Regions from separate parts of the Homo sapiens genome. Here all the other regions are linked to region 1. The links are contacts of gene promoters, found by promoter capture Hi-C in human tissues and cell types (Jung and others, 2019). All regions are on one chromosome and are shown on one strand. The core of a region is centred on a gene start or on the middle of the fragment in contact, and the rest is flanking DNA. Distances in the headings are between cores, read along the strand shown. Region 1 holds the start of DPP7 (dipeptidyl peptidase 7). Region 2 holds the start of AGPAT2 (1-acylglycerol-3-phosphate O-acyltransferase 2). Region 3 overlaps EXD3 (exonuclease 3'-5' domain containing 3). Region 4 holds the start of DPH7 (diphthamide biosynthesis 7).

Region 1 (7,180 bases), core at 1,582-4,081:
CTGCCTAGATGGTCTGGAGAGGGCAGATGGACCTCGAGGGGAGGGTTTGGGCTCAGCAGCCTCTCACCCTTGCTGGCCAGGCTCCCAGGATTCCCTGCCCAGGGACCTCTCACCCCCTCAGCTGGTGGCTCTGCAGCCAACCTGCCCGTCTGTGCTGCTCCGGGGATGGGCAGAGAGAGATCGGGGGTGTCTGCACAGGCATGGGCAGCCTAGGCTCACTTGCCCCTTGGGTGACCTACTGTGCCCTGCACAGGCTGACGAGGGCCCTGGCGATGCAGACCTGGGGTCCTCCTGCAGAAGTTGGGCCCCTTCACATGTCAGGTTGCTGTGCCAGTGAAGGGGTGGCCAGCCCCTCCACACCTGTGGGTGTTTCTCGTCAGGTGGGATGAGAGACTGAGAAAAGAAATAAGACACAGAGACAAAGTATAGAGAAGGCAGTGGGCCCAGGAGACGGCGCTCAGTATACGGAGGACCCGCACCGGCCCCGGTCTCTGAGTTCCCTCAGTATTTATTCATTACCATTTTCACTATCTTTGCATGAGGAATGCGGCAGCAGAGCAGAGGTCAGCAAGAAAATGTGAGCAAAGGCATCTGTGTCACAAATAGCTTGAAGGGAAGGTGCTGTGCCCGGATGTGCACGTAGGCCAGATTCATGCTTCTCTCCACCCAAACATCTCAGTGTAGCAGAGTAACAGAGCAGCATTGCCGCCAGCATATCTCGCCTCCAGCCACAGGGCGGTTTTCTCCTGTCTCAGAATAGAACTAATGTACGATCGGGTTTTACACGGAGACATTCCGTTCCCAGGGGCATGTCGGAGACAGAAGCCTTCCTCTTATCTCAACTGCAAAGAGGCCTCCCTCTTTCACTAATCCTCCTCAGCACAGACCCTTTATGGGTGTCGGGCTGGGGGACGATCAGGTCTTTCCCTTCCCACGAGGCCATATCTCAGGCCGTCTCACTGGGGGGAAACCTGGACAATACCCAGGCTTTCTTGGGCAGAGGTCCCTGCGGCTTTCCGCAGTGCACTGTGTCCCTGGTTAATGGAGAATGGAGGATGGCGATGACTTTTACCAAGCATACTGCCTGCAAACACATTGTTAACAAAGCACATCCTGCACAGCCCTAAATCCCCTAAACCTTGAGTCAATACAGCACATGTTTCTGTGGGCACAGGGATGGGGCTAAGGTTACAGGTTACCAGCACAGGCCTAGATGCCTTAAACCTTGATTCCATACAGCATATGTTTCTGTGGGCACAGGGATGTGGGCAGGGGACTGTGGCCACCCTCACCCCTGGCAGAGCCATGCTGGGTAGCCCCATGCCCACCCTTCCCGGCTTGGGAGGCCCTGGCTGCTGCCCAGAGGGGCATCAATGCCTGGGCCGTGGACAAGAGGGAAAGTGGCTTCCTTGGAAACCCTGCTCCTGGAGCCCTCCCTGAGGCTCTGGCCCCTCTGTGGGCCCAGCCAAGCCTGGAGCGTCTCCAGGCTCTGGTGTGCTTGGGGAGCTGGCCAGCTCTCGGCCTAGCTGGCGTCTCCAGAGCTGCGGTCCTGGGTGAGGGTTGCTGGTGGAGTTCTGGCCACCTAAGGCACCCGAGGGAGCCAAAGGAGCAGAGGTGTGGGGTGGGGGACGCCGTGGGGTACCTCCACATCCAAGGAGGTCTGCTGTTTGTCCTCACCCCCGTCCTGCGGGGGCCCCGGCAGGCAGCCCCAGGAACTGCGTAGGGATGGGACAGGGCCCAGATGTGAGGGCCGTGGTGGGGACGGTGTGTGGCCCTGGATGACCTCGTGTTGCAGTGTGACGTGATGGTCACTGCCACCATGCTGAGGGCCCCAGCCACCAGTCACCCACCATGGGGGGTGCCTCTGTGTGAGGCACGGGAGGGCCATGGCGTGAGGGGCTGTGGAAGTGGCCGGTCTTCTCCGCTCAGCCCCACACAGGATGGGCAGGGCAGGGTCATGCTGGCCGAGGGTAGTCTTGGGAGAAGGACAGGGTAACTCTCTGTAGCTGAGCCCCTGCTGCCCCTGCACCTGTTCTGGGCCTGGCTAGCGGCCCATGTACATCCCCAGCAGGACTCCACGTAGCTAGTCTGGCACCCACCACTACGGCCCCCTCACCCACTCCCTGAACTGGACGCTGGGGAAAGGTGACTTCTTCCATCCTCTGGGTGCTCCCCAGGGAGGAGGCCCCAGCTCCCAGCAGAGGCCTCTGGTCCCCCCTTGTCCCTGCAGGGCTGTGTGGGCACACTGGGTGCCAGTCGGAAGGGCAGGTGGCGATTCCCAGCTCTTGGGAGCTACCCGGCCACATCCCGGCCCTGCCCAGACGCTCCAGGGGCACCCCACACTCCTGCCCGCTGCGAGGCCCCGCCCCGCCAAGCCCAGCCCGTTATCGCTTGGACAAACCCTGGGTTGCTTTCTTCGGGGGGCCAGCACTCTGTTTGGGACCCTCTCCCTCCCGCCCTTAGGGCAGCAGAACGGCCCCCACTCTCCCGGCCCTGCCTTGGAGTGGGGCACCTGCCAGGAGCAAGTGCTGGGGAGGCTTGGCGGGCGCAGCAGGGACTCGCCCTAGCGCAGCTCCGGATGGGGCCGCGGTAGGAGGACGAGCCAGTGGGGCGGGAGGCCGCGGAGATGGCCCGGGGGCCCTCTGCTTCCCCGCGCCGTGCCCGGGAAGGACCCCTGGGCAGCGGCCGCGGGGCGCGGGGTGTTGGGGGGCACAGCCCCGGCGCGGCGCTGAAGCAGCGACGGTCTCCGTGGGGACCGCGGGCGCCCGAAACACGTGGGGCCTGGAGGGAGGAGCGCGCCCTGGCGGCCCCGTGACCCCGCCCACGTGACGGGCGCCCGCGGAAGGCGACATGGGCTCCGCTCCCTGGGCCCCGGTCCTGCTGCTGGCGCTCGGGCTGCGCGGCCTCCAGGCGGGGGGTGAGTGGCGGCGCCCCCCGGCCCATTCCCCGGTCCCGGCCCCGCCTCTGAGGTTCGCGTCCCCCCACAGCCCGCAGGGCCCCGGACCCCGGCTTCCAGGAGCGCTTCTTCCAGCAGCGTCTGGACCACTTCAACTTCGAGCGCTTCGGCAACAAGACCTTCCCTCAGCGCTTCCTGGTGTCGGGTGAGACCCCGGCCCCGGCCCGGCCGCCCCCGCCGTCCCGCCGCCCCCCGGCACCCTCGCCTCATCCGCCCTCCCCACAGACAGGTTCTGGGTCCGGGGCGAGGGGCCCATCTTCTTCTACACTGGGAACGAGGGCGACGTGTGGGCCTTCGCCAACAACTCGGCCTTCGTCGCGGAGCTGGCGGCCGAGCGGGGGGCTCTACTGGTCTTCGCGGAGCACGTGGGTGCCGGGCGGGGTCGCGGGCGGGGTCGCGGGGCACGTGGGTGCCGGGCGGGGTCGCGGGCGGGGGTCGCGGGGCACGCGGGTGCCGGGCGGGGTCGCGGGCGGGGGTCGCGGGGCACGCGGGTGCCGGGCGGGGTCGCGGGCGGGGGTCGCGGGGCACGCGGGTGCCGGGCGGGGTCGCGGGGCCGGGCTCAATGGCACGTTCCCCCAGCGCTACTACGGGAAGTCGCTGCCGTTCGGTGCGCAGTCCACGCAGCGCGGGCACACGGAGCTGCTGACGGTGGAGCAGGCCCTGGCCGACTTCGCAGAGCTGCTCCGCGCGCTACGACGCGACCTCGGGGCCCAGGATGCCCCCGCCATCGCCTTCGGTGGAAGGTGGGCGCCTCCCCCGGCCTCCGCACCCCCTCCCTCCCCTGCCCCGACCCAGCGCCCCCAGCCCTTCTCCCCACTCCCCTCTGACTCCCACCGCTGCCTTTTCGTAAGGCCTCAGGCAGTGGTTCCAGGCTTAGTGTTGCCTCCCCCAGGAAGCCCTCCCACCTGTCCTCCCAGCCACCTGCTCAGCTTGGATGTGCGGCCACACTAGCGGCCTTTCCCAGTGAGAGCTGCACCCGCACCTGGCCCAGGGTTGGAATTTGTGGGTCTCAGAAGTGTCGTCCTCCTTGTGGCACCTGTGGGCCCCTGAGGAGGAAAAGAGGAAATGGGGTGTTGGGGGCAGCAGCCCTAACCCTGTGTCCCTCACCCAGTTATGGGGGGATGCTCAGTGCCTACCTGAGGATGAAGTATCCCCACCTGGTGGCGGGGGCGCTGGCGGCCAGCGCGCCCGTTCTAGCTGTGGCAGGCCTCGGCGACTCCAACCAGTTCTTCCGGGACGTCACGGCGGTGAGTGAGGCTTGGGGTCCTCCAGGCCCCCTAAGGGACAGCAGCTGCAGTCAGCACGGTCTCTTTCCCCCAGGACTTTGAGGGCCAGAGTCCCAAATGCACCCAGGGTGTGCGGGAAGCGTTCCGACAGATCAAGGACTTGTTCCTACAGGGAGGTGAGGTCCTCCCACCGCCTCCCACTGCCTGACCCGCCCCAGCGCCAGCTATGCCCAAACTTCAAGTCTCTGCCCCTTCCACGCAGCCTACGACACGGTCCGCTGGGAGTTCGGCACCTGCCAGCCGCTGTCAGACGAGAAGGACCTGACCCAGCTCTTCATGTTCGCCCGGAATGCCTTCACCGTGCTGGCCATGATGGACTACCCCTACCCCACTGACTTCCTGGGTCCCCTCCCTGCCAACCCCGTCAAGGTGAGGCGCCGCCTCCCAGGGCGCAGGGAGAGGCCGGCTGGAGTGTCCCGAGGCTGGTGGTCAGCGGCCTGACCCTCATCCTGGGAGCCAGGGAGGCGGAGCTGGTGGAGGGGACCCCGCTGAGTCGCCGCTGCCCCTGCACTCCAGGTGGGCTGTGATCGGCTGCTGAGTGAGGCCCAGAGGATCACGGGGCTGCGAGCACTGGCAGGTGCCCTTCCCCCGGCCCCAGATGGGCAAGTGTGGAGACCCCAGGCTTGGCTTGGGTCCTGGGGCCGGGTGGGGCGAGGATCCGCAGCCCGGCCAGGGGCTTTGCCTCCTGCCCCAGGGCTGTGGTGGGGTGGACAGCACGACCTTCCCAGAAACCCTGGGGGAGGCAGGGGCCGTCCCTGGGGACCCTCTCAGCACTGGCTGTAGCCAGGCCCAGCTTGGTGGGTGCTGCCCAAGGGGCCCCTGGGGTCCCCAGCATGGAGGGCAACAGAGGGCAGCAGGCCCCACCCTGCCCCGTGGAGAGCGGGGGGGCCCTCAACAGTCAGGCCCGGGGCTGGCAGCACAGACACCGCCGACCTCCAAGCAGGTAGCCTGGAGGGCCTTCCTCACTGGGACCTACAGATCCCAGAGCCCCAGATCCCCTGCAGGACCATTCCGAGGGGGGACAGGTTGGTGGCCGGAGCCCGCGGTGTGTCTGTGTGTGGCCGCTGGGCCCCAGCGCCTCTCCTCCCCAGGGCTGGTCTACAACGCCTCGGGCTCCGAGCACTGCTACGACATCTACCGGCTCTACCACAGCTGTGCTGACCCCACTGGCTGCGGCACCGGCCCCGACGCCAGGGCCTGGGACTACCAGGTGTGGGGGTGTGGGTGGCCTGGAACCACTCGGGGGCAAGGGTGGGCGTGGGCTGGCCTGACTCAGGCTGGGGCACCTGCAGGCCTGCACCGAGATCAACCTGACCTTCGCCAGCAACAATGTGACCGATATGTTCCCGGACCTGCCCTTCACTGACGAGCTCCGCCAGCGGTACTGCCTGGACACCTGGGGCGTGTGGCCCCGGCCCGACTGGCTGCTGACCAGCTTCTGGGGGGGTGGTAAGGCTGAGGGGGGGTGGGCCAGCGTCCTGCTTTCTGCCCCGAGCTCTGCACCCCCTGCCCATGGCTCACAGCCCCCGTGAGGGGCCCACATCACAACTTTCTCTGCCCCTTGCAGATCTCAGAGCCGCCAGCAACATCATCTTCTCCAACGGGAACCTGGACCCCTGGGCAGGGGGCGGGGTGAGTCCTGGCCTGGGCCCTATGACCCCGTTAGTTTGTTTGTTTTTTTTTTGAGACAGGGTCTTTCTCTGGCGCCCAGGCTGGAATACAGTGGCGAGATCAGGGTTCACTGCAGCCTTGACCTCTGAGGCTCAAGCCTCCCAGTAACTGGGACTACAGGCGCTCACCAACATGCCCAGCTAATTTAAAAAAATATTTTTTTGTAGAGACACAGTCTCACCATATCGCCCAGGCTGGTCTCGAACTCTTGGGCTCAAACGATCTTCCCCGCATGGCCTCCCAGAGTGCTGGGATCACAGGCCCCTCGCCTGCCCCTACCCTGCTCCCGTCTCACCCCCAGAGTGCTGGGATCACAGGCCCCTCGCCTGCCCCTACCCTGCTCCCGTCTCACCCCCAGAGTGCTGGGATCACAGGCCCCTCGCCTGCCCCTACCCTGCTCCCGTCTCACCCTCAGAGTGCTGGGATCACAGGCCCCTCACCTGCCCCTACCCTGCTCCTGTCTTACTCCCAGAGTGCTGGGATCACAGGCCTCACACCTGCCCCTTCCCTGCTCCTGTCTCACCCGGTTTTGCCCCCATCATCTCGTCACTTCCCACCTCCGTCTCTGGCTGGTTCTCTCTGGTTGCTTGATGGGCACTGAGTCTCGGCTCGCCCTCTCACGTCTCCTCTCCAATGGGCCCACGGAGGCTGGGCAGTTGCCTCGTTCCTCACCTGATGGAGTTCTTTCCACTGACCACAGATTCGGAGGAACCTGAGTGCCTCAGTCATCGCCGTCACCATCCAGGGGGGAGCGCACCACCTCGACCTCAGGTGCGGAGGGAGGTGGCCTGGCGGTGGTCGCGGGTCGGGCGGGACAGGCTCACCGAGGGCTGGGGCTGACGGGCCCCCTCTGTGCCCGCTCCCCAGAGCCTCCCACCCAGAAGATCCTGCTTCCGTGGTTGAGGCGCGGAAGCTGGAGGCCACCATCATCGGCGAGTGGGTAAAGGCAGCCAGGCGTGAGCAGCAGCCAGCTCTGCGTGGGGGGCCCAGACTCAGCCTCTGAGCACAGGACTGGAGGGGTCTCAAGGCTCCTCATGGAGTGGGGGCTTCACTCAAGCAGCTGGCGGCAGAGGGAAGGGGCTGAATAAACGCCTGGAGGCCTGGCCATGTATGTCCCGTCCTTCCTGTCTGTGGGGCCCACACGCAGGCTGTGGGAGCGGGACCCTCGGAGACACGGCTGGGGACGCGGCGCACCCCACACAGGCCGGGTATGCCATGTGCTCCACAAGGTAGAGGCTCCACAACGCTCAGGTCTGCTCCTTAGGGC
Region 2 (6,992 bases), core at 4,249-6,748, 430 kb after region 1:
GGCCCCTGACGACTGAGGGCTCCAGGCTCTGCACAGTCCACGCTGCCACTGGGATCGGAAGGGCGGATTCCTCCCTCCTTCCGTCACTCATTCACTCACCAATGGGGCACCTGCCATGGGCCAGGAGCAGAGTAGAGGGTGTTGGAAGCGAACCCACGGGTGGGCGGTCGGGTGGGGAGGGAAGCCCGCCTGCCTCTGCCCACAGGAGCCCAGGCCTGACACGGCCCCAGGACACAGGCCCCTGCCCCACACGGCAGCACGGATGCCCACGGCCCAGGCCTGGCATGGTTCAGAGGAGGACGTGGACACCAGGTCCACTGGGGGCTGCCTGGACACCCTGGAAACTGTGTGCACCACCCGGGTGGCCGTGGGAGTGCGGCGCTCAGCCTGAGAAGGACCCAGCGTCGGAAGCCCCTGTAGGCGCCAGAGCCGGCCCTCGGACGCTTCACCAAAGGAAGCTGCAGCCTCGTCTGGGCTCCGACGGCCCTTCCTGGAGGTCTTGCCGTTTCTCTCATTTGGTGGAAGAGGTCACGGCCTGTGGCACCCAGGCCCCGGCTTTCGATGCTGAGCCCCGAACCCCCGGCCTCAGCCTCATCTTGCCAAGAGGATGATCCTGTGGAAAGGTGAAGTCGCTCCCGAAATTGGGGGGCGGCTCTGAGCCCCCAGTTGGGTTTGCTAAGGCTTGGACCGGTGCTGCCAAAGGCCCTTCCGACCACATCATGGGCAGGGCGCAGGGCCAGAGCCAGGGCCACCCTGCAAGAGCCAAGCCCCTGGACACCACTGCCGGTGGGGAAACTGGGGAAATAGGTGCTCTGGAGGTATTTGGGGGAAGGGTGAAGGAGGAGCCGACTGCAGCCCAGGCCCCCCTGCCCCCGCTTGCTGGGGTTGGGACCTCGGCTCCTCTGCCCCAGTGGGATCAGCTGCTCCAAGCCCCGCCACAGTCGGGAGGCCCTTGGAGGGGCTCAGGGAGCAGAGCCCGCTGTGGTGGGTGGGGCAGCCTTGGTAGTGGAGGGGGCTCCTGAACCGCCCATTCTCTGGGGCACTTGCCTCCCTCCTGTGCCCTAGGCGAGATACCAGAGGAGGGGGCTTGGAGGCCCTAGGCCTGATTGGACGCCGCCCTCAGCAGTGAGTAAAAAGCCATGGGGTGAGGCCGAGGCTGGGGGCTGGGCCTTCATCCCTGCCTTGCTTGGGCTGGCCTGGGCCGTCCCAAGCCTCGGTCCCACTGAATCATCACACGCACCCTGCACGAAAGGGAAACTGAGGCCTAGAGAGGCAGGGCTGATCCAAGGTCACCCAGGGTCTCCTCGCTGGGTCGGGCTGCCTGACCCTGACCCTGGGCTCTTCAGCCCCACACCACACCCCTCTCGGACTGGGACCCAGGCACCCTCTGGGCCTCCGTGGTCCTGTGTGAGCTCCAGCCATGGCTGCGTCAGAGGCCGGAGCTCTGCGTCTGCTCTGGTACTTCCTGCCACGGAGCCCGACTTGCCCGGGCTCCCTGCTCCTCAGAGGCTCCACTTAGACACAGGTGTGCTGGGTGCGAGAGGCCGTGCATAGGGCACAGCTGCTCTGGGCAGGGAAGGGCTACTGCAGTGTGGGCCCCTCCTCCCTGGGCCGTCTCCTCCCTTCTGTCTCCTGATGCCTCCCCGCCCCTGTCCTCTCCATCCACCTCTGTCCTCTGTCTCCCAGCCCAGACATCATCCTGGCAGGAGAAGGACCCTGTGGGGTGTGCTCTGCCCCTCACTCCCACCCCAGCCTGTGACCTAAGAGCTCCGGATGGGACATCCAAAGGCGTGACCTCCTGTTGGCTCCTACATCTGGGGCCATATGTCCCAAGGTCCCACGTGCCCTGGCCAGCGCCCCTTGGAGCCCTCACCCGCCCTCCCTGACTCCCTAGGGAGAGTGTGGACCGCCCCGCCTGCTGCAGAGGTCTGGGCAGCCAGCCCAGAGGGCTCACCTCATCTATTTTTAAGCACAAACCCATGAAAGATTCACAGGCTGCTTTATTTACAGGTGGTGGGAATGGCATTGCGCCCAGCACACCCACCAGGAGGCCGGACAACCCGTCGGCCAGGGTACGCTCTGCCCGAGAGCCCCAGGCATGCCCGGCTTGGACCTCAGCCACTCTGTGCAGGCTGAGGTCCCGGCATAGCCTGGCCTCCCCGTCCAGCCCCCAAGCCAGGCTTTGATGTCCTCCCTGGAAGGAAGGAGCCCCTGAAGGGTCCAGCCCGAGGCCCAGCTGTGCCGTGGCTGCCCCCTGGCCACACGTCCCCGTGTCTCCAGCTGCCGAGAAGCTCTCCCCTTCCCTGGCTCTTGTCCTGGTGTCTCTCCGGGGCAGGTCTTTGGGGAGAGGCCTAGTCAGGCCCATGTGCCCCGCCAGCCCGGCAGCTGCCTCCTGTCACACACTGGGCACGGCGAGCGTCACGTCTCCACTTTACAGATGAGGAAACCGAGGCTCTGGTGCCTTGGCTAACTCAGGGTTTAGGTTTAAAGCCAGATGGACTGGTCTTCAAAGCCCGGCTGCCCTGCCCCTGCCAGTCCTTCCTGGGCCACACAGCACTGGCTTCATCTCTGCTTCCTGGAATTGGAGAGGCTTGGCTGGTCCTTCCGTCCTCACTCGCTCCCTGAGCTGTGTGGGCTCCCCGGGCCTCAGCAGCCGGTGCCAACTCAGCTCTCACTGTCACCTGGTGTCATGCGCTGTCTGGCCGGGTCCCAGCAAATGCCCAGGAGGACTCTCAGCTGTCCTTGGGTGGGTACAGCCGCACGGCCACCACCGGCCCAGCACTCCCTGCCCCTGGTAGCTGAGGGCATCTCAAGGGTCAGACAGGGCGCTGGCCATCCCTACACAACAGAACCAGGCTCCCAGTCCCTCACCACACTCTTGGGATAAACCCAGCAGAGCCCATGCCAGCCCTCCCTGGGTGAGAAGCACTCATTTTAGAGAAAATCTCTTTTCTAGGCTGGGCGCGGTGGCTCACATCTGTAATCCCAGCACTTCGGGAGGCCGAAGCGGGCAGATCACTTGAGGTCAAGAGTTTGAGACCAGCCTGGCCAACATGACAAAACCCTGTCTCTATTAAAAATACAAAAATTAGCCGGGTGTGGTGTCGGGCGCCTGTAATCCCAGCTACTCAAGAGGTTGAGGTAGGAGAATCTCTTGAACCCAGGGGGCAGAGCTTGCAGTGAGCCGAGATCACGCCACTGCACTCCAGCCTGGGTGACAGAGCGAGACTCCGTCTCAAAAAAAAAAAAAGAAGAAGAAAATCTCTTTTCTTGGCATCTCTGCCAGCCCATAAGATTCTCTGGAGCTTTACTTCTAGAAACAAATAATGTGTTAGCTTCCCAAATGTGGCATTATATTAAAATACACAGTACTTCCTCATCACTCCCCAAGTCCCTGGCCCGCCTCCTCTTGGATCTTGTCGGAGGAAAAGTGGACGTTTCTCTCAACACTTCTGCAAGGTGCAGAGAAGAGGGAGGAGGTGAAATTAGGTCTCACCCTCTTCAGGAGAGCAGTGGGCAAAACCCCACCTTGTCTGGGGAGGCAACAGGGTCACCGTGTGCTGCCCTGGCACTGTTCCTGCCAGCCCTGGCAGGAGTCTTCCGGCTCAGAGTCAGCCTCTTTTCCTCTGTCACGTCCCGGCTGTCTGGTGTTCACCCTTGAGAGCCTCAGTTTTCCCTCTGTAAAATGGGGATGCCTTTGCTACTATGGAAAGTGTGTGCTGAGCACCTGCTATGTGCCAGACATTGGCCTGAGTGCTGGTCGCACATGGTGCACAAAACAGATGAGGCCCCACGGGCTCCATTCCGGGGGGAGGAGAGGAGGGAGAGGTGTCCAACACACACACAGTCACCTAGGGGTGCAGGAAGATGGTGGCCACCCTGGAAAGGTCGGTGGGCTGGGAGGTAAAGGACAAGAAGGGGGCTGGCATGTAAAGCCCCTGGACAGGCCTGATGGTTGTGAGGACTGGATTCCACAGCCAGGGTACAACCTGCTCGGGACCTGGGTGCACAGAGCCTCCAGCTGAAGGTGCTGTGAAGCCCCACTCCTCCAGGAAGTCCACCTGGGACCCCAGCCCACACCCCCGCATCCCCCAGCTCCCGGCAGCGGCACTCCTGTCTGCAGGGTGCACCCACCTCATCTGCCCTGGAAGATGAAAACCCCGCAGCCGTCAGCAGCCACCTCTCAGCCTCTCAGAGGCACAGCAGTGCAGCTCTCAGACCTCCCGGCTGCGGGGTGTGCAGTTCCGGCTCCAAGCGTGGAAAGAGGTCAAGCCAGGCCCTCCAAGCTGATTCCAGATGAAGCCCATATGGATCTGGAAGGAGACTGGGCTGGAAAATGCTCTCCTGGGTTTCGCTGTAAGATGCCTACAGGCCTAAGGCAAAAGGATGTGTCTCCACTTTCAAGAAAAGCTGGGACCGCCTGGGCAGGGGCTGCTGAGCCCAGGCAGCGAGACCCCACGTCCTTCAGGACCGCAGTTCCCCATTCATTTGAAGAGCAGTTTCTGTATTTGTCATTCTCTCAGTACAGTTTGGGGGGTGGTTACAATGTTCAGGGAAATGTTTTAACAGCTCAACTCTGCATCTGAAAAAAGAGGGGCCGTGCTCCCCTGCTGACCCGTTAGAGCGCAGGGCGGCCAGCACTCCCGCAACTGCAGCAAACCCAAGAGTCCCTATGAGGAGGGACCCCAGGAAACTGCTTTTCAATCTCCATCTGCTCCCTGAGGTGGGACGCCGGGTGGGGGCCGGGCCAGGTGACTGCTGCCCTTGTCCCAGCTGCACCTTGCCCTGCCACGCTGGCCGTGCTGCCAAGCGGATGTGAACGCCGCCACCTGACACCCACCTCGCCTGCCCCCGGAGCGTCCCTGGTGACAAGGCTACTTCTGGCACCCAGGGTGGGGCAACCCAGCCCCGCCCAGACACACGCCCCAGTTGGCCTGCGCGCCCCCACGAGTCTCCCCGCAGGGGACCGAGAACACCCTAAGAGCCAGGCTTTCTGCCAGGTGGCCACTGGTCACTCGGGGGCGGTTCCGGCGGCCCTTTGCGTGGCCACCGGCCTGGCACGGGCGCATCCCCGCTGGTTTTACGCCCTTGGGGAGCTGTGGTTCTGCGCGCGGGAGCCTGTGGCTGCCCCGGCAGCGGGGGGAGGGGGCACCGGGCGGGGCAGGAGGCCCAGACCATGGGGGGCAGCGCCAGAGCCCGAGCCACCGGCAAGCCATGATGGGGGGGTCCCCTGGGACCGGGAGGGTGGGAGCAGAGCGCCAGAGCCTCGGTAACCTGGCAGAAGGCTGTGGGGAGGGAGCGTGGAGGGGAGGTCCGGGCCGGGTGACCCAGGGCGGGAAGGGGGGGCCGTGTCGGGGCGGGGTTGGGGACAGTGGCGGGGCGGGGCCTGGTGAGGGGACCGTGTCGGGGCGTTGTTGGGGACAGTGTCGGGGCGGGGCGCCGCACCTAGCCCTTCCCTGCCGCGCGCTCCTCCCCCACGCCGCGCCCCGCCCCGCCCAGCCCCGCCGCCCTCGCAATAAGGGGCCTGAGCGCGCGGGGGAGAAGCGGGAGCGGGAGCGGGAGCGAGCTGGCGGCGCCGTCGGGCGCCGGGCCGGGCCATGGAGCTGTGGCCGTGTCTGGCCGCGGCGCTGCTGTTGCTGCTGCTGCTGGTGCAGCTGAGCCGCGCGGCCGAGTTCTACGCCAAGGTCGCCCTGTACTGCGCGCTGTGCTTCACGGTGTCCGCCGTGGCCTCGCTCGTCTGCCTGCTGCGCCACGGCGGCCGGACGGTGGAGAACATGAGGCAAGGCCGGGGGCCGCCGGGAGGGGCCGGGGAACCGCCGCGCCGCTTCCGCTTCCCTAACTTTCTTCTGGGCTTCCCTCCTTCCTGCCCCGCCCGTCCCGCCCCGCTCCGGGGCTCCGGGGAGAGCGCGCCTGGGCCGGCGGCAGGCACAGGAGGGGGTCCCGGAGTCAGGGGGTCCCGGAGTCACGGGGTCAAGGAGCCGGCGTCACAGTGCCCAGCACCCCACCCCCCGCCCTGGCCCCGGGCGTCTACACCGGTTTCGGCCTCCGCCGCGTCCCTGCAGCCCGGCGTGGGGTTCCGGGGGTGGAGCAGCTTTCGGAGAGAAAGGGGGCCGGTCCGCGCTGGGAGAGGCTCAGCCCTGCTTCCTGAGCGGGGAAACCGAGGCCGGGGCGGCGGGGACTTGCCCCAGGGCTATTGATCAGGGCGCACGACGGCGTGGGGGCACCCCTCGGCCTCCCTCCGACCCCCTCCTGACTGTCCGCCCGGTGATGGGCGCACCTGTGGGGCGGGTTCCCCTTTCTCTCCCTTTCCTCTTCGCAGGGAGGTGGGGGACCCGGAGGGGACCTGCTTCCGTGCTGGGGAGCGCGCCCCTGGCCTACAGCTCCGGGGGCCCAGCTTCCAAGCGAAGGGAAGGAAGAGTTAGGACTAGGGTTCGGCGGGGCTGAAATTTTCCCCTGGACGCCTTCCAGAAGGTGGGAGCTTGGTTTTGCCAGGCTGGGGTTGGGGGCCAGAGGTCAGACTGGGCTGCCAAAGACGGCGGGGGCTGCCTGCTCCTGGGCGGGGTGGCTGCTGGAGAAGGCTCTTGCCTGCCCCCTCTCCCTGTTAGCCGTCCCCAGGCTGTTGCTACATTTCTCCCTGCCCTGTTTGGACTGCCCAGCCAGTGGCTTTTGCAATGGCCTGGGGTGGGGGCATTGTGGCCCCAGAGGCCCCCTTCCCCGTGGTTCCAGGGGCAGTGGGTGAGGGTTTGCTAGCTCCCTGCACTCGCTGTCCTTGCCAGCCCTGGGAGGGCACTGAGGCTGCTGGAACGGGCCTACAGTCATGGCTTCCAACGGAGCCCCAGAAGCTCCAGGAATATGAAGGAGGACCCTGGGCCTGATGGTGAGCATGGAGAGTCCGAGAAGGGCCTGCTGGCTGCTCAGCCAGACGTGTGTGACCAGTGGTGATGTGGGCCAGGTGGCCCAGGCCGGGGTCCCGGGGAGCGCACACTCCAGGG
Region 3 (7,181 bases), core at 1,362-3,861, 300 kb before region 1:
ATATAGGCTCCTTTCTAAACTGGCTGGAACTTTGCCATAAGGAATTTCAGACTTTTTTTCCCCACATCAGACAGGTAATGTGCTGGCGTCATAACAGCGTTTGAAGGAGACAGACCCTACACATGAGGCAATCATCATGCTTATGAACTACAAGAGGGTCAGAATAGACCTTTAAAAGCCACTTGAGGGCTGGGCATGGTGGCTCATGCCTGTAATCCCAGCACTTTGGGAGGCCAAGGTGGGAGGATTCATTGAGCCCAGGAGTTTGAGACCAACCTGGGCAACATAGCGAGGTCCCTGTCTCCACAAAAAATTTAAAAATTACCTGGGCATAGTGGTGCTCACCTGTAGTCCCAGCTACTCAGGAGGCTGAAATGGGAGGATCGCTTGAGTCCAGGAGATTGAGGCTGCAGTGAGCTATGATCGCACCACTGCACTCCAGCCTGGGTGACAGAGCGAGACCCTGTCTCTAAACAAAACAAACACTTCCCATGTCTAGGAAGCCAAGCCAGTGGCTCCCCATCACAGTGTATGTATAATACCTGTATGAATTTGGGGGGGGGGGTGAATGTCTGTCCTCCAGGTCCCAAACTATCTTGAAGTTCCTGGATCTGTCGGAAAGTGACATTCTTTCCTTACCTCAAGGCCAAGAACCTTTTAAGGGAACTATGTAAACAGGGCACCAGTCCAGTCATCCCAAGGGGCTTTTTATTGGCTCTATAAAGCGAACCTCGATTCCTCAAAGCAGTCTCGTCATATCCAAAAATACGTCATCCCAGTCCAAGCCTTGGTAGAATAACCAGGGTCTCCAATTGTGTCCTGTTACAAGGACAACAGATTCTTACTGAACTCATGCAAAGAACTACATTGCCATAAAATAAGAATACTCATGAATCGCTTCCAGATTTTTGAGAAATCAGGTAGAGAAAAAGACAAATATTTCAGTTTTGCTCACAAAAGTATATGTCACTCAATTGCTATAGCTATAAATAGCTCAAAAAGAAAAAGGTTTTCTGACTCTGGAAAACAAAATATAAAAAGAGTCAGCAAGGTTTCGATAACAACAAAAAATCATAAAAAGCATTTCAGGCCTCTATCAGTTCAGTTCTATGTAATTTGCTGGGGTTTTTTTTGTTTTTTTTTTAGGCGGAGTCTCCCTCTGTCGCCCAGGCTGGAGTGCAGTGGTACAATCTCGGCTCACTGCCAGCTCCGCCTCCCGGGTTCACGCCATTCACCAGCCTCAGCCTCCCGAGTAGCTGGGACTACAGGCACCTGCCACCATGCCCGGCTAATTTTTTTGTATTTTTAGTAGAGATGGGGTTTCACCGTATTAGCCAGGATGGTCTCGATCTCCTGACCTCGTGATCCGCCCGCCTTGGCCTCCCAAAGTGCTGGGATTACAGGCATGAGCCACCGCGCCCGGCCGCTTTTTTCTGTATGATGTTGGGTTAACAATCCTCATGAATGCATCAGCTTTTAAATAAGAGTCCTGGAAGTTTTTATCTGGTCTACTGGTGTGATCTCCCAGGTTATCGGAAGTCTGTATACTTGTCAATGTCCTTTCCATGAATTTCCTTGAAGAAAATGCAAATTTTGGACTGTACCTTATTTTATTTTATTTATTTATTTATTTTGAGATGGAGTCTCGCTCTGTTGCCCAGGCTGGAGTGTAGTGGTGCGATCTTGGCTCACTGCAACCTCCGCCTCCCAGGTTCAAGCGATTCTCCTGTCTCAGCCTCCCAAGTAACTGGGATTACAGGCATGAGCCACCATGCCCAGCTAATTTTGTATTTTTAGTAGAAACGGGGTTTTACCACATTGGCCTGGCTGGTTTCGAACTCCTGACCTCAAGTGATCCACCCGCCTCAGCCTCCCGAAGTGTTGGGATTACAGGCATGAGCCACCGTGCCCGGCCTTAAACTGCATTTTGAGAAGAATCAAAGTAAAACAGTAATTTTCTGCAGATGACAAAAGACTTAGAGTAGCCATGGGTGAAGACGCGATTGGCAGGGAATTTGGTTACTTCTGAGGTTAAAACAGTTTAACATATAATCGTAATCACGACTGATAACATATACCAAGACATGTCAGAATTTTTAGGAATCTCATACAATTTTGGAACATATGTTAATAATACATTTATACCAATATAACTCCAACAGCATTCCACATTTGACAATGCTTCCTGTATGATTTTAACATACCACATAAGCCTCGTACATCTCCCTTGGACTTCTCGGGGTTCCTATTTGTTATATCCAAGTTAGTTCAGGTGAAAAAAACCCTTAATGTTAGGACTTGAAATTTGGTTTTGGGAAGTCAAATATCAGAGGCTTAAAACAATCTCAAAATAGGACCACAGGTCACTGTAAAATAAGCCATTCATTTAATCAAATTGGTAATTCAGAGATTTCCCAAACCAAAAACCTTTACTATGACAGAGAGGAGACTTAGTTTCCCAAGCAATCAATAGACCTACTAAAGACAGCGTGAGGCAAACAGAATGTCTCTCCCTCTTTCCCCTTTTTTTTTTTCTGTTTACTCAGAAGATAAAAATATTTTACAATCTCTTATTACTACACGAAATGTTGTTCAAAAGAAAAACAAACTCTGCTTTTCTTATACATCTCACGTACAGAATTGTTTCTCTTATATTTAGTAGTTTCAGTTACATATATTAATTACAGTGTTAACTTCGTGACCCTAATTTTCCGTTAAAAACTCAGCGAGTAATTTTGAACTGTATGTGTAGATGGAAACCATTTCATCATGTTTTACAGAGATGCATCTCCTAAATTTTTTTGTTAACAGATGTAAATATATTTAGCTTTCCTATGCCATATAAAAATAAGATACTAAAGTATATAAGCTTAAACTTACGCTTAGTAATTAATGTTTCAGTGTTTTACTTAGAAATGACTCAGACGTTTGTTTGTTTGTTGTTTGTTTTTTGAGACAGAGTCTCGCTCTTGTCGCCCAGGCTGGAGTGCAGTGGCGCAGTCTCGGCTCTCACTGCAACCTCTGCTTCCCGGGTTCAAGCGATTCTCCTGCCTCAGCCTCCTGAGTTAGCTGGGACTACAGGTGCATGCCACCACGCCTGGCTAATTTTTGTATTTTTAGTAGAGATGGGGTTTCACCATGTTGGCCAGGCTGGTCTGGAACTCCTGACCTCAGGTGATCCGCCCGCCTCGGCCTCCCAAAGTGCTGGGATTACAGGTGTGAGCCACTGCGCCCGGCCACAAAAGGAGATTAATAGGAGAAGTGGCATCACCCAGGGCACAGACCTCCTGCCAGCCCCGGGGGTCCTCGGCCTCCCAGTGACCGTGCGTCCCCGAGGCTCACCCGTCCCCTCCGTGGTCCCACCCCAGTCCTTGCAGCTCACCCCCTCCGGCCCCGCCAGCCCCTCACCCACGGGCTCCTCAGATCCTCAGGCTCTGTCCTTTCCTCCCCGCCTGACGGCCCGGCCTCCCCCGCAGGCGCCCTGGGCAGGACCGGCCCGCGGCACGGCCTGCGCTTGAAGGAGGCGGGAAGGGCCCAGCGCAGTGGCCGGTGTGCCCGGGGCGCACACGTGGTGTCGGTGATGTCGCCTGCGCCGACCTCCTGTTCCGTTCGTGGCGGAAGCTGCTCCGCCGCGTGGTGGCCGCGCGCCTCCTCCTCCGCTCGGCCGTTCCTCCTCTGCGGCCGCCACGCGCAGCGCGGCTGGGGTAGTTTGTGCGGACGCGCGTTGCTGGTCCCCGTGGTCTCTGCCCGGGAGAGGAACTGCCAGAGCCCGTGGTCGCTGTGTTCGACTTTCCGAGGAACGGGTGGGCTGTGGGGTGTGGCCACGCCGCCTCCCGCCCCTCGCGCCGTTGGCTCCGTGCAGATGCGGTCAGCAGGGGCCTCCGCGCCGCGGAACCCGTGGTCAGGTTCGGCCTCACCCGTGGACCCGTCTGGCGCCTCTGCGGGCGCGCTCGCTTCCTGGCAGCCTGGGCGCTGCCGGGGTGTGCTGTGCTCACCACCCGCCGCCTTTCCCATTTTCACGACAAGCCGTGGGAAACTGGCCATCCCCGTCCCTGCGGCGCCCGCGTGAGTCCGTGGCCGCGTCCTCTGTGCGAGTCCAGACCCGTGTGTCTCCCACCGCCCACCTGACTTCTCCCCCGGCGTCTGGTGGGCGCCCCTCCCTCGGGGATGAAACCCCGCAACGCGGCCCCGGCTTTGCCCGGGAGCTCGGTCGTCACGAGGGTCGCCCTCTCCTGCCGTTGCCGCCTCCGCCTGTTCTGAGGCCCACAGGGAGGCCGAGGAGATCCTAAGGTGGGGTCCCCTTGGTCAGACCCTCCCGTGGAGTTGGGCGTGTTCTGGCCGCGTCTGTCGGGAAACGGGGAGGTGTCGGGGCTTCCTGGCCTCCTGACGGCCGCACCGTCATCAGTCCCGAGCCCAGCTCAGGGAGGGCCTGCTCCCTTCTGCTCCAGGTGGGAGCGGCTCCTGCCCGGGGCGCCTCCAAGAGCACCCCTGCGAGCTCGCGACAGCCCCAGGCTAGGCTGCGGGACGGCCTACCGACCCTTGGTGTTGATCCTTGTGTCACGGGGAACCAGGTCCTGGAACCGCCTGGTGCCACCTCGGTGTGACCTGGATGTGTCCCGTCCCCATCCTCCTCAGAGGGTGGCCGCCTGGCGTGGCGCAGGATGATGCTCTGAGCCGGGTTGCCCAGCACGTGTTAGGGTCCTGGGTGGAGAGGACCTTTGGGAAGCAGCAGCCGGGCTGACGAGGGTCCGGATGCCTGCCCGGGGACCAGCGAGGTTCCGGGCGCCTGCCCGGGGGTCAGCTGGGCCGGCCGGATGTTTCTGGTGGAGACCTGGGAGGTGAGGCGGTGGGCTGCCGGCGGTCCCTCCCTGGCTGTGCAGAAGCTGCGGTGGAGTGTGAGCTGGACCTGGGGGTGCCCGGCCTGATGGGAAGGTGGCAGAGGCTGTGTGACATGGAGATAGGTCGTGAGGGCCCCAAGTCCGCCCCTTTGTCCCTGTGGGTCCCTCACTCTGGGAACCTCGGGCTGCTGAGGACTGAGACGTGCAGTGCCCTCCCCCTGGTGGAGCGGCCACCCAGCCAGCCACCGCAGAATTCTTGGCCCTCAGGCACTGCAGAAGAGCGAAAGCCCTGGCTGTGGGTCCCAGGTGTGGCTGGCAGTGGCCGGCGGCAGGCAGAGGCCCTGTCACCATGGGTGAGGTGTGGAGGTGCTAAGGCTAAGATCCCATCCTAGTTTTAACCTTCAAAAATATCATTCATGGTTTTTTCTTTGTTCATGAATACAAACCAGGGTGTATACATTGTGTAGTATTCAGAAAATACAAAACAGAAAGCACAGAGGCACCGTCGGCAGAGCAGCCAGGCCCTCACACGTGCATCTGCCTGGTTTTGAGAAGGGACCTTGCACCGTGCAGCGTGATCCCCTTAGGGCAACGCGACTTTATGCTGCTCTGTGAACCCTTTCCCATGCCATTAAGTATTTTTATAAAACATGGTTTTTAAATGCTGTTTATCATTCATCAGATTCTACCTTGTGTGATCAGAACTGGGGTCCTTGGGAAAGCCCACCCTTGATGGGGGACTGTTGGCCCCAGCCCCGTCTGTGATGGTGACCCCAACATGTGCTGTTGGCACCTCCCAGAAAGGGTTCCCCAGAGCCCATGGGCCACCTGACCCGTCCTTGCAGCTGTCCCATGGTACATCCATGTGTTGTGGGCAGTGAGCTGCAGGGAGGTGGGGTGCACAGAGAAGCTTGCCGCAGAGCTAAAACCAACACGGTGAACAGGGAAGGTGTCCTTCAAAACCGCAGCCTGGGCAGGAGCAGTGGCTCCTGCCTGTAATCCCAGCACTTTAGGAGACCGAGGCAGGCTGATCACCTGAGGTCAGGAATTCGAGACCAGCCTGGCGAACATGGAGAGACCCTGTCTCTACTAAAATTACAAAAATTAGCTGTGCATGCCTGTAATCCCAGCCACTCAGGAGGCTGAGGCAGGAAAACGGTTTGAACCCGGGAGGCGGAGGTTGCAGTCAGCTGAGATCGCCCCACTGCACTCCAGCCTGGGCAACAGAGCAAGACTCCATCTCAAAAAACAGAAAAAAAAAAAACAAACCTGTGACAGGCCCAGCGCAGTGGCTCACGCCTGTAATCCCAGCATTTTGAGAGGCCGAGGTGGGCGGATTGCTTGTGGTCAGGAGTTCAAGACCATCCTGGCCAACATGATGAAACCGCGTCTCTACTAAAAATACAAAAATTAGCTGGGCGTGGTGGCAGGCACCTGTAATCCCAGCTACTCGGGAGGCTGAGGCAGGAGAATCACTTGAACCCTGGAGGCAAAGCTTGCAGTGAGCCGAGATCGCCCCCCTGCACTCCAGCTTGGGCGACAAAGTGAGATTCCGTCTCAGCCTGGACAACAGAGCGAGACTCCATCTCAAAAACATAAAAACAAACATACAAAGAAACCCTGCGACCTACGTGGAGCCCACGGGGGCCAAACATGCCAGCACCCCCCTGGAGTGGCGGTGTGGGACCCCACACCTGTCACACCTGCTGGCCTCCTTCTCCATCTCCTGTGCAATATCCCTGGAAAGTTACTTTTTGTGTTTAAAATTGGTCATGTTAATTGTTAAGGAAAGGAACAATCCTTAAGTTAAATTGGTAAGTTTAAAAAAACGAAAGACAGACCGCAACAGGCGTTGGTGAGGCTGTGGAGAAATCAGAACCCTCGTGTGTTATCGATGCTAGCGTAAAATGGCACGTCCACTGTGGAAACAGTCTGGTAGTTCCTCAAAAAGCTAAACATAGAAACACCGAGACTCAGCAGCTCCAGTCCTAGGAATGTGTGTCCCCAGATCAGTGAAAACACACTCCACACAGAAACATGCACACAGCTGTTCACAGCAGCACTGTTTATAACAGCCAGACAAGGGGGTGCGGCCCGAATGTCTGCTGGACAAACAGCCCGTGGTCTGTGCACACAGTGGGGCAGGACTCAGCCACGGAAAGGCAGTTCCAGCACATGCTGCTGCAGGGATGAGTTTTGAAGACACCATGCCAAGTGAGGTCAGTCAGCCACAAGAGAACAGAACCTTGGCCGGGCGCGGTGGCTCACGCCTGTAATCCCAGCACTTTGGGAGGCCAAGGGAGGTGGATCACGAGGTCAGGAGATCGAGACCATCCTGGCTAA
Region 4 (7,354 bases), core at 3,593-6,092, 460 kb before region 1:
TCCCCGTTTTAACCAAGTCTCCTCAGGGTCTGGCTTCGGAGAACGGGGTTGGTGGGGTGGTTTATGCAGCTTCTTTACTCCGTGATGCAGCAGGGCTGGGGCTGCCCACGCTTGCCTCTGAGCAGCCAGTGCACATGCCTTTGAGGCTCCGTTCTTGGTAGAACTCTCCCGTTGTAGGCATCTGGCCTACTCAAGCAGGAGGAGTTTTTAGACGGACGTAGGGCAGCTCCCGGTATGGAAGGGGAAGTGGACCGACGGGGCAGTAATGGGCACCTCTGCAGGTCAAGGGCAAGGAGAGGGGCCGCCTCGCTTTGCACAGGGGCCTGACCTGGGCCCTGTCTCCTGCCTACTGTGTGCCTGTCAGTCCCAGGTGCTGGGGAGAGGGTGATAGATGAGGCCATGCTTACGGGTTAGTGGGAAGATGAGACACAATATTTACTGTCAGGTGGTGAAAAGCACATGCAGCAGGGATGGGCCAAAGGAGACTCAAACTCGGGCTGGGTGTCCTGGGCAGGATGGCACTCTATGGAGTCATTGCATCGTCTGCTGTGTGCTGGCCCCGTTTGGCCAGAGTGCACTCAAGTGTCTGCTTCTTTCTTTAAGGGAGCAAAGCTTGTATTGGCTTGCAATTCAGCAGCTGCCTACAGACCCTATAGAAGAACAGTTTCCTGTCCTAAATGTGACCCGGTATTATAATGCCAACGGGGATGTAGTGGAAGAGGAGGAGAACTCTTGCACCTACTATGAGTGCCACTACCCTCCCTGCACAGTGATTGAGAAGCAGGTGGGTGTGCTGCAGTGCGGTCGCGTCCCTGGCACCTCTACCCTGTAGCCCAGCCTTGGTTTGGGATCTTGCCCTCCACCGCGGGGTCCCATTCCCCAGAGACCGCTTAGCACCTCTTGGGCTTTTCCACCAGAGTGGTCTCCCTTTGCCCTTGTGCTGGCCTGACCAGGGCCCAGGCCCTCCAGCCTTGGTACGTGGTGTTTTGCTGGGTCCGTCAGATTGTCCGTAAGACGCAGCCTTTGCCCCACACTGCGTCCCAGGCATGATGGTGAAGCCACAGGTGTTCTGTATTTCAGCTCCGGGAGTTCAACATCTGTGGGCGCTGCCAGGTGGCCCGGTACTGCGGCTCCCAGTGCCAGCAGAAGGACTGGCCTGCCCACAAGAAGCACTGTCGGGAGAGGAAGCGTCCCTTCCAGCATGAGCTTGAGCCAGAGCGATGACGGGCAGGGGAGCCACACATACTCACAGCCCCCGGGCTCTACCCTGGGCACAGCAGAGACAGACTGGTGGTTGAACCTGGAGGTGCCAAAAAAGCCAGCTGCGGGCCCAGGACAGCTGCCGTGAGACTCCCGATGTCACAGGCAGTCTGTGTGGTTACAGCGCCCCTCAGTGTTCATCTCCAGCAGAGACAACGGAGGAGGCTCCCACCAGGACGGTTCTCATTATTTATATGTTAATATGTTTGTAAACTCATGTACAGTTTTTTTTGGGGGGGAGGCAATGGGAAGGGTAGAAATTACAAATAGAATCATTTGCTGTAATCCTTAAATGGCAAACGGTCAGGCCACGTGACTAAAAACTGTCCTGTTGTCGAAGCTTCTCCCCTGGGCCGCCGGGAGCCCCGTGGAGCGCGGCCTGCACGGGAGTTGTGTCCACAAAGGCAAAGTAAAGGGGTGGAATCATCTGGCCTCTCGGACATTCTCTGCTCCGCCTCCCTCTTGTGCTGCTTAGGGTGAGGTCATTTTGAGTGGAGCCGAGTCCTTGTGGGTGAGGCAGGAGGACCCTTGTTCCTGGTGGGCCCTTCTGAGGAGCGGGTGAGCTCAGACCTTCCTGAGTCCAGCAGGGAGTATGAGTGAGACTCTGTCCTTGTCTTGCGGCAGGAGTGGTGGGGTTGCTAAGTCAGCTGCCCGCTGTTTTATGGGGAGTAGGATGCTCTCGCCCCTGACATTGGTTAGTTCTTGCCTGATTTATGCATGAAGTGGCTGGGAGCTCAGCAGTGAGCTTCTGCCCAGAAGAATCCACAGGGCATGTTCAGCAGGCCTGCTGCAGATGGTGGAGGGGGCTGGCCAGCCAGGGTGAGGTGAGGGTCTCACTTCTCCGTCCGTCTGCAGGGCTGTGGTTTCCAGGATAGCCCTCCCTCTCCTTGGGGAGCCCCAGGTGTCTGGGGCTGGTCAGCATCTTGTACCCATAGAGCTGCCCCAGGGAAACATGCCAGGCTGTGTGGCTGGGATCCTGCCTGTCTCCAGGTGCGCCCAGCCAGAGGCCTTGCTTCTTGGGAGCTGGAAGCCTGGCCAGTCCGACTCTGACCTGTCTGGTCTGGTCCGGTCCGACCCTGTGTTGGTCCCACAGGTTGCTGCTACACTTTCCCTTCTTGAAGCTCCACTGCCATGTTCCAGGACACCCTGTGTGTTCTCATTGCTGCCCCTGGCTGGGCTGGCTTTTGTCTGTAAGCAAAACTTCCAGTACCTTTTCTGGCAGTACCCTGGGGGCTCCTGAAGAACAGGACTGCTGAAAATGGGTGATATCAACAAACTCCGCAGGATTTCCTGGAGCTTAGAGAACTGCATGTGCCCACATCAGGCCCTGAGAAGCCCCCTTAGCTGCTGCAAAGGTTGGGGACATTTTTTGCTGAGTAGGTGAAAGCTGCCAGGGAGGGGGACATATGTGTCCCTAGAGATGGCGGGTCAGCAGGTTGGGGTTTGGGGCAGTCTTCAGGCCTGGAGCCCCGAGTGCCCTCAGGCAGCCTGCTTTCAGATAGAGTCTGAGGATGAGCACGGAGTGCAGGGGTCCCCTTTACCTGCATCCAGGGGTGTGGCCATGTTGCCCCTGACCAGCAGGGCTGCTTTGTTTGGCAGTCATTCATCAGAAAAGTGCACTGAAAGAAGCGCCCAGGGCCTCCCACCTGTGAGACACCACGCTGGGGAAGGGGGCGGTGCAGGTTCTAGGTTTGCATGTGGCAGCTCCTCCAGGCCTCACCCCAGCAGGTGGCACCGTGAGGGTGGGACGGGCCCCACCACTGCTTCCCTCTCACCTGATACCCAATCCTCTGGTCATCTTTCCCGTTCCGTGGCCCCGACTTCTTGGTCTTCGTAGCCAGGTATCTAAGACGTCCTGTGAGGACATCCAGATGGCTGCAATGTGGGGCTGCTTCTAAAGCTTGTTTGGAGTGTGGTGTGTTGGGATGCGCACCTGGTCACTCTCCCTCCCCCGCAGAGGTGTGTGGTTGAGGCCCTTTTGGAATGCCCTGCTGCCTTCCTGGCCAGCCTTTTCTGCGCCTCTGTCTCTGTGGTGGTCTGAGCTGTTGGCTCTCTGCCATGTCTTTAGCCACAGCCCTGCTTGAAGCCCTGAGGCTGAATACCCAGGCACCCGTATATTTCAGTCAAGTCCGCCTTAGCTTCCTGGAGCTGCCGCAACAAAGCAGCGCGAGCTGTGCAGCCTGAAGCAGCGGGAATTCACAGTCTAGGCTCTGGAGGCCGGAGTCTCAGATGAAGGCGCAGGCAAGGGCCCTCAGGTGCGGACGCCTCCTCCCTGCCAGGTGCCTTGCCTGCCTCCCTGTGCTCTGCACAGCAATGGCCCTGCAAGTCTTCTGCATCAGCTTTCTCTTCTGCGGACTCCTGCTCCTCTGGGTCAGGGCCCACGCCTGCTGCTTCTGAGAGCCCCTGTTTGTTAAGGATGCTCTCTGAGGTGCTGGGGTCTTCAGTCCATTGTTTTTTGGGGGGCACAGTTCAACCTGTAACGGCCCAAGGGGTTCTTCCTGCCCGCTGCACACATTCAGACCGTGGATTGCAATAAAGAAAAAAAGTTTAGGGCCGGGCGCAGTGGCTCACACCTGTAACCCCAGCACTTTGGGAGGCCGAGGCGGGTGGATCACGAGGTCAGAAGATCGAGACCATCCTGGCTAACACGGTGAAACCCCGTCTCTACTAAAAATACAAAAAATTAGCTGGGCGTGGTGATGCGCGCCTGTAGTCCCAGCTACTGGGGAGGCTGAGGCAGGAGAATGGCTTAAACCCGGGAGGCGGAGCTTGCAGTGAACTGAGATCGCGCCACTGCACTCCAGCCTGGGTGACAGAGCAAGACTCCGTCTCAAAAAAAAAAAACAAAAAAATTAATAGACACGGGCCGGCCAGGCCACATGTGAGATGGAGTTCGTCCTCAGATCATCTTGTCCAAAGCTCCTAGGTTAGGGGTTTTTTCAAAGGCAGTTTTGGGGGAGGGGGGCGGCGGCCAGGCGACTGGTGCTGATAATCATAGGGGTCGGAGCCGTCCACCTGCTGAGCCGCTTCTGGGGGGTCCTGATGCAGCCACGGGTGTCAGACAAGCAAAGACCCTGGAAGGCGGTCTCTGAGGGGCAGCTCCGCCATGGCGGGTTCACAGGAGGCAGGCAGAGCGCGCCTGCGGCCTCGGGGTGCTGGGCTTAGTGGGGCGCGGGCTCCTCATCAGCTTTACGAAGGCGTTGATTCCGGGGCAAGGCCTGTCATGGAAACTGCAGCCTAAATGTTAAGTCAGCGCGGCCCGATGGCCAGGAGTAACCGGGAGGGCGCCACGGGGTGCGCTACCGCAGCTCGCTGTTGGGGTTTTTCTCAGTGATAGAAATTTTGCAGAGGCGGCTTCAAACCTACGGCTCTGTCACTAACTTGCCGTCTCCAAACCTGCTTTGTGGAGGAGCGGATTTCCCGAAGCCTTCGGTCTCTACGGCCCCGCAGGGAGCAGCGCGTCTGACGCCTGAAGCCCGCCGCGGTCAGCCGGCCGACAGGGGGCGTGGGAGCCTGGCTTCCCAGGGGCGTCCACGGAGGCCAAGGCCCTGCCGGATGTCCCGCCCCGGCACCCCGGAAGGAGTCGCGAGAGAGGCGGCCCGCGCTGACGGTGTCCCTGGGGCTCTGCGCTCGTCCGGCCGGCCCCGGCCTCGCCGCCCCGCGCAGTACCCAGCCCGGCCCCGCCGACCCGCCTCTACTGCCGGCTCCGCGCCCTTCCCCGAGGGCTGGATGATGGGCTGTTTCGCCCTGCAAACGGTGGACACCGAGCTGACCGCGGACTCGGTGGAGTGGTGCCCGCTGCAAGGCTGCAGGCACCTGCTGGCGTGCGGGACCTACCAGCTGCGGCGGCCGGAGGACCGGCCTGCCGGCCCCCAGAACAAGGTGCGCGCGCCGCGGCTTCGGGAGGGGAGGGCGGGGCCGGCCACGAGGTTGAGGCCGAAAGGCGCACCGAATCGCCCAGGAGATGAAGAGGGGATATTGGCCCTTTGGCCAGGAGGTAGGCTGGAAACAGTTTAGAATCTTTTTAAAAAAATTGTTCTCGGCCGGGCGCAGTGGCTCACGCCTGTAATCCCAGCACTTTGGGAGGCCGAGGCGGACGGATCACGAGGTCAGGAGATCGAGACCATCCTGGCTAACATGGTGAAACCCCGTCTCTACTAAAAAAATACAAAACAATTAGCCGGGCGTGGTGGCGGCGCCTGTAGTCCCAGCCACTCGGGAGGCTGAGGCAGGAGAATGGCGTGAACCCGGGAGGCAGAGCTTGCAGTGAGCCGAGATCGCACCACTGCATTCCAGCCTGGGCGATACAGCAAGACTACATCTCAAAAAAAAGAAATTACTTTTTTCTGAGACAAGGTCTTGCACTGTCACCCAGGCTGGAGTGCAGCCTCGGACTCCAGGGCTCAGGGCATCCTCCCGCCTCAACCCCCTGAGTAGCTGGCACCACAGGCACGAGCCACCGCCCCCGGCCAACTTTAAAATCTTGAGAGCAGAACGTCTTCTATATACAGGTGTGGCCCAAGGGAATGGGTGGAATGTACAGTAAAGAGAAAGTGGGAATTATATCTTAACTTCTGGTGGGTACATATTAGGATCCAAATTGGGCACTGGAACAACAGGCGTAAGTCAGGACTGTCCCAGGCAAACTGGGTTCTGTGGTTACCCTAGCCATAGCTGGTCCCTGTTGGCCGGTTTAGAAGGAGCCTTCTCTACTGGGTCCAGGAGTGTTCACCTACTCATTAATAGACGTTTCTCCAGCTCAGAAAACCAGAGGTTCTCCTTCCAGGCAGAATTCCACTCCTTTAGTCATGGCAAACCTTTGAGTTCCTTGGATCCCTTTTCCCATCCTTTGGGTTCCTTCGTGTCTTGGGATAATCAGAGACTACCTCTGCATTTTTTGTAGGGTGGAATGGAAGTTAAGGAGCCTCAGGTCCGTTTAGGCCGTCTCTTCCTGTACAGTTTCAATGACAACAACTCTATTCACCCTCTGGTCGAGGTCCAAAGAAAAGATACTTCTGCAATCCTGGACATGAAATGGTATAACTGTGATAATCCCACTGGGTGTAGAATTTGTCATGAGTAGCAATCAGGGAAGCCTGATGCCTGATGCCTTCAACAAGACAGGCATTGCATCTCAACTTTGGATTTGTTTCTTTGCTGTCCCGCCTATCTTCCACCTGGGGAGTGCTTTACCTGGGGCTTATTTCCTTTGTCATGTTCCAGCCGGGGAAGTGATGGGAGTTTTCTGACTTCATAACCTGGGGCGTCTTTTGTTTGAGAACACAGTTGTAGGCTCTAGCCCACTTTTGGAGCTGAGATTTAAATGCAGTGGTGTGTGGCATAATTATGTTTTGGTCAACAATGGAGCACGTATACCATGGTGGTGCCTTAACGTAATGGAGATGCCCTATACAGGTGTACCAGTTTTTATCCTTTTTAATTTTTTTTTTTTTGAGGCAGGGTTTTGTTCCGTTGCCCAGGCTGGAATGCAGTCACGTGATCATAGCTCACTGCAGCCTTGAACTCCTGGGCTCAAGCAATTCTCTGTCTCAGCCTCTCGAGTAGCTGAGACTTCAGACTTCAGGTAGATGCCACCATGCCTCTTTTTTTTTTTTTTGAGACGGAGTCTCGCTCTGTCGCCCGGGCTAGAGTGCAGTGGCGCGGTCTCGGCTCACTGCAAGCTCCGCCTCCTGAGTTCACGCCATTCTCCTGCGTCAGCCTCCCTAAGAGCTCGGTCTACAGGCGCCCGCCACCACACCCGGCTTATTTTTTTGTATTTTTAGTAGAGACGTGGTTTCACCATGTTATTAGGATGGTCTTGATCTCCTGACCTCGTGATCCACCCGCCTCAGCCTCCCAACGTGCTGGGATTACAGGCGTGAGCCACGACGCCTGGCCTTACCACACCTCATTTTTGTTTGTTTGTTAGTTTGTAGAAACAGGGTCTTGCTATGTTGCTCAGGCTGGTTTCGAACTCCTTACCTCAAGTCATCCTCCTACCTCAGCTTCCCAAAGTGTTGGGGTTACAAGTGTGAGCCACCATGCCCGGCCACCTGTTTTTTATCCTTTATATTGTATTCTTACTGTATCTTTT

The links. The method cuts DNA at HindIII sites, captures the fragments that hold promoters and counts their contacts. A contact is called where the count stands out against the background at its distance.
Region 2: the fragment with the promoter of AGPAT2 here is called in contact with the fragment with the promoter of DPP7 in region 1 in 2 of the 25 tissues and cell types used here (heart left ventricle and mesenchymal stem cells).
Region 3: a contact is called between a fragment that was not itself captured here and the fragment with the promoter of DPP7 in region 1, in 1 of the 25 tissues and cell types used here (dorsolateral prefrontal cortex).
Region 4: a contact is called between the fragment with the promoter of DPH7 here and the fragment with the promoter of DPP7 in region 1, in 1 of the 25 tissues and cell types used here (lymphoblastoid cells).

What each region holds. Positions count from the first base shown.
Region 1 is chr9:137,110,384-137,117,563 of GRCh38, reverse strand. It overlaps DPP7 (dipeptidyl peptidase 7), which reads left to right and starts at 2,831. Exons shown (of 13, transcript NM_013379.3): 1 at 2,831-2,917; 2 at 2,988-3,101; 3 at 3,182-3,321; 4 at 3,536-3,699; 5 at 4,068-4,203; 6 at 4,277-4,358; 7 at 4,445-4,611; 8 at 4,759-4,819; 9 at 5,334-5,452; 10 at 5,535-5,691; 11 at 5,810-5,874; 12 at 6,614-6,684; 13 at 6,781-7,018. The coding sequence starts at 2,851. The coding sequence ends at 6,916. LOC124902314 (a long non-coding RNA gene) reads right to left here and starts at 2,765. Exons shown (of 2, transcript XR_007061874.1): 1 at 520-2,765; 2 at 1-393. RefSeq lists silencers at 2,606-2,955, 2,986-3,135. The HindIII fragment of the contact is 20,655 bases long and covers 1-7,180 here.
Region 2 is chr9:136,685,963-136,692,954 of GRCh38, reverse strand. It overlaps AGPAT2 (1-acylglycerol-3-phosphate O-acyltransferase 2), which reads left to right and starts at 5,498. Exons shown (of 6, transcript NM_006412.4): 1 at 5,498-5,779. The coding sequence starts at 5,598. RefSeq lists silencers at 4,772-4,851, 5,322-5,521, 5,742-6,311 and an enhancer at 6,032-6,893. The HindIII fragment of the contact is 28,065 bases long and covers 1-6,992 here.
Region 3 is chr9:137,414,122-137,421,302 of GRCh38, reverse strand. The region is part of intron 1 of EXD3 (exonuclease 3'-5' domain containing 3); the gene reads left to right. It also overlaps the pseudogene LOC124902354. Among named protein-coding and RNA genes, the nearest start is that of EXD3, 5.4 kb to the left of the region's middle. RefSeq lists a silencer at 3,337-3,606 and an enhancer at 3,092-3,918. The HindIII fragment of the contact is 3,396 bases long and covers 914-4,309 here.
Region 4 is chr9:137,576,413-137,583,766 of GRCh38, reverse strand. It overlaps DPH7 (diphthamide biosynthesis 7), which reads left to right and starts at 4,842. Exons shown (of 9, transcript NM_138778.5): 1 at 4,842-5,142; 2 at 6,164-6,297. The coding sequence starts at 4,990. It overlaps ZMYND19 (zinc finger MYND-type containing 19), which reads left to right. Exons shown (of 6, transcript NM_138462.3): 5 at 604-784; 6 at 1,081-1,686. The coding sequence ends at 1,224. RefSeq lists enhancers at 4,437-4,496, 3,591-4,562, 7,297-7,354 and a silencer at 4,747-5,156. The HindIII fragment of the contact is 7,311 bases long and covers 2,381-7,354 here.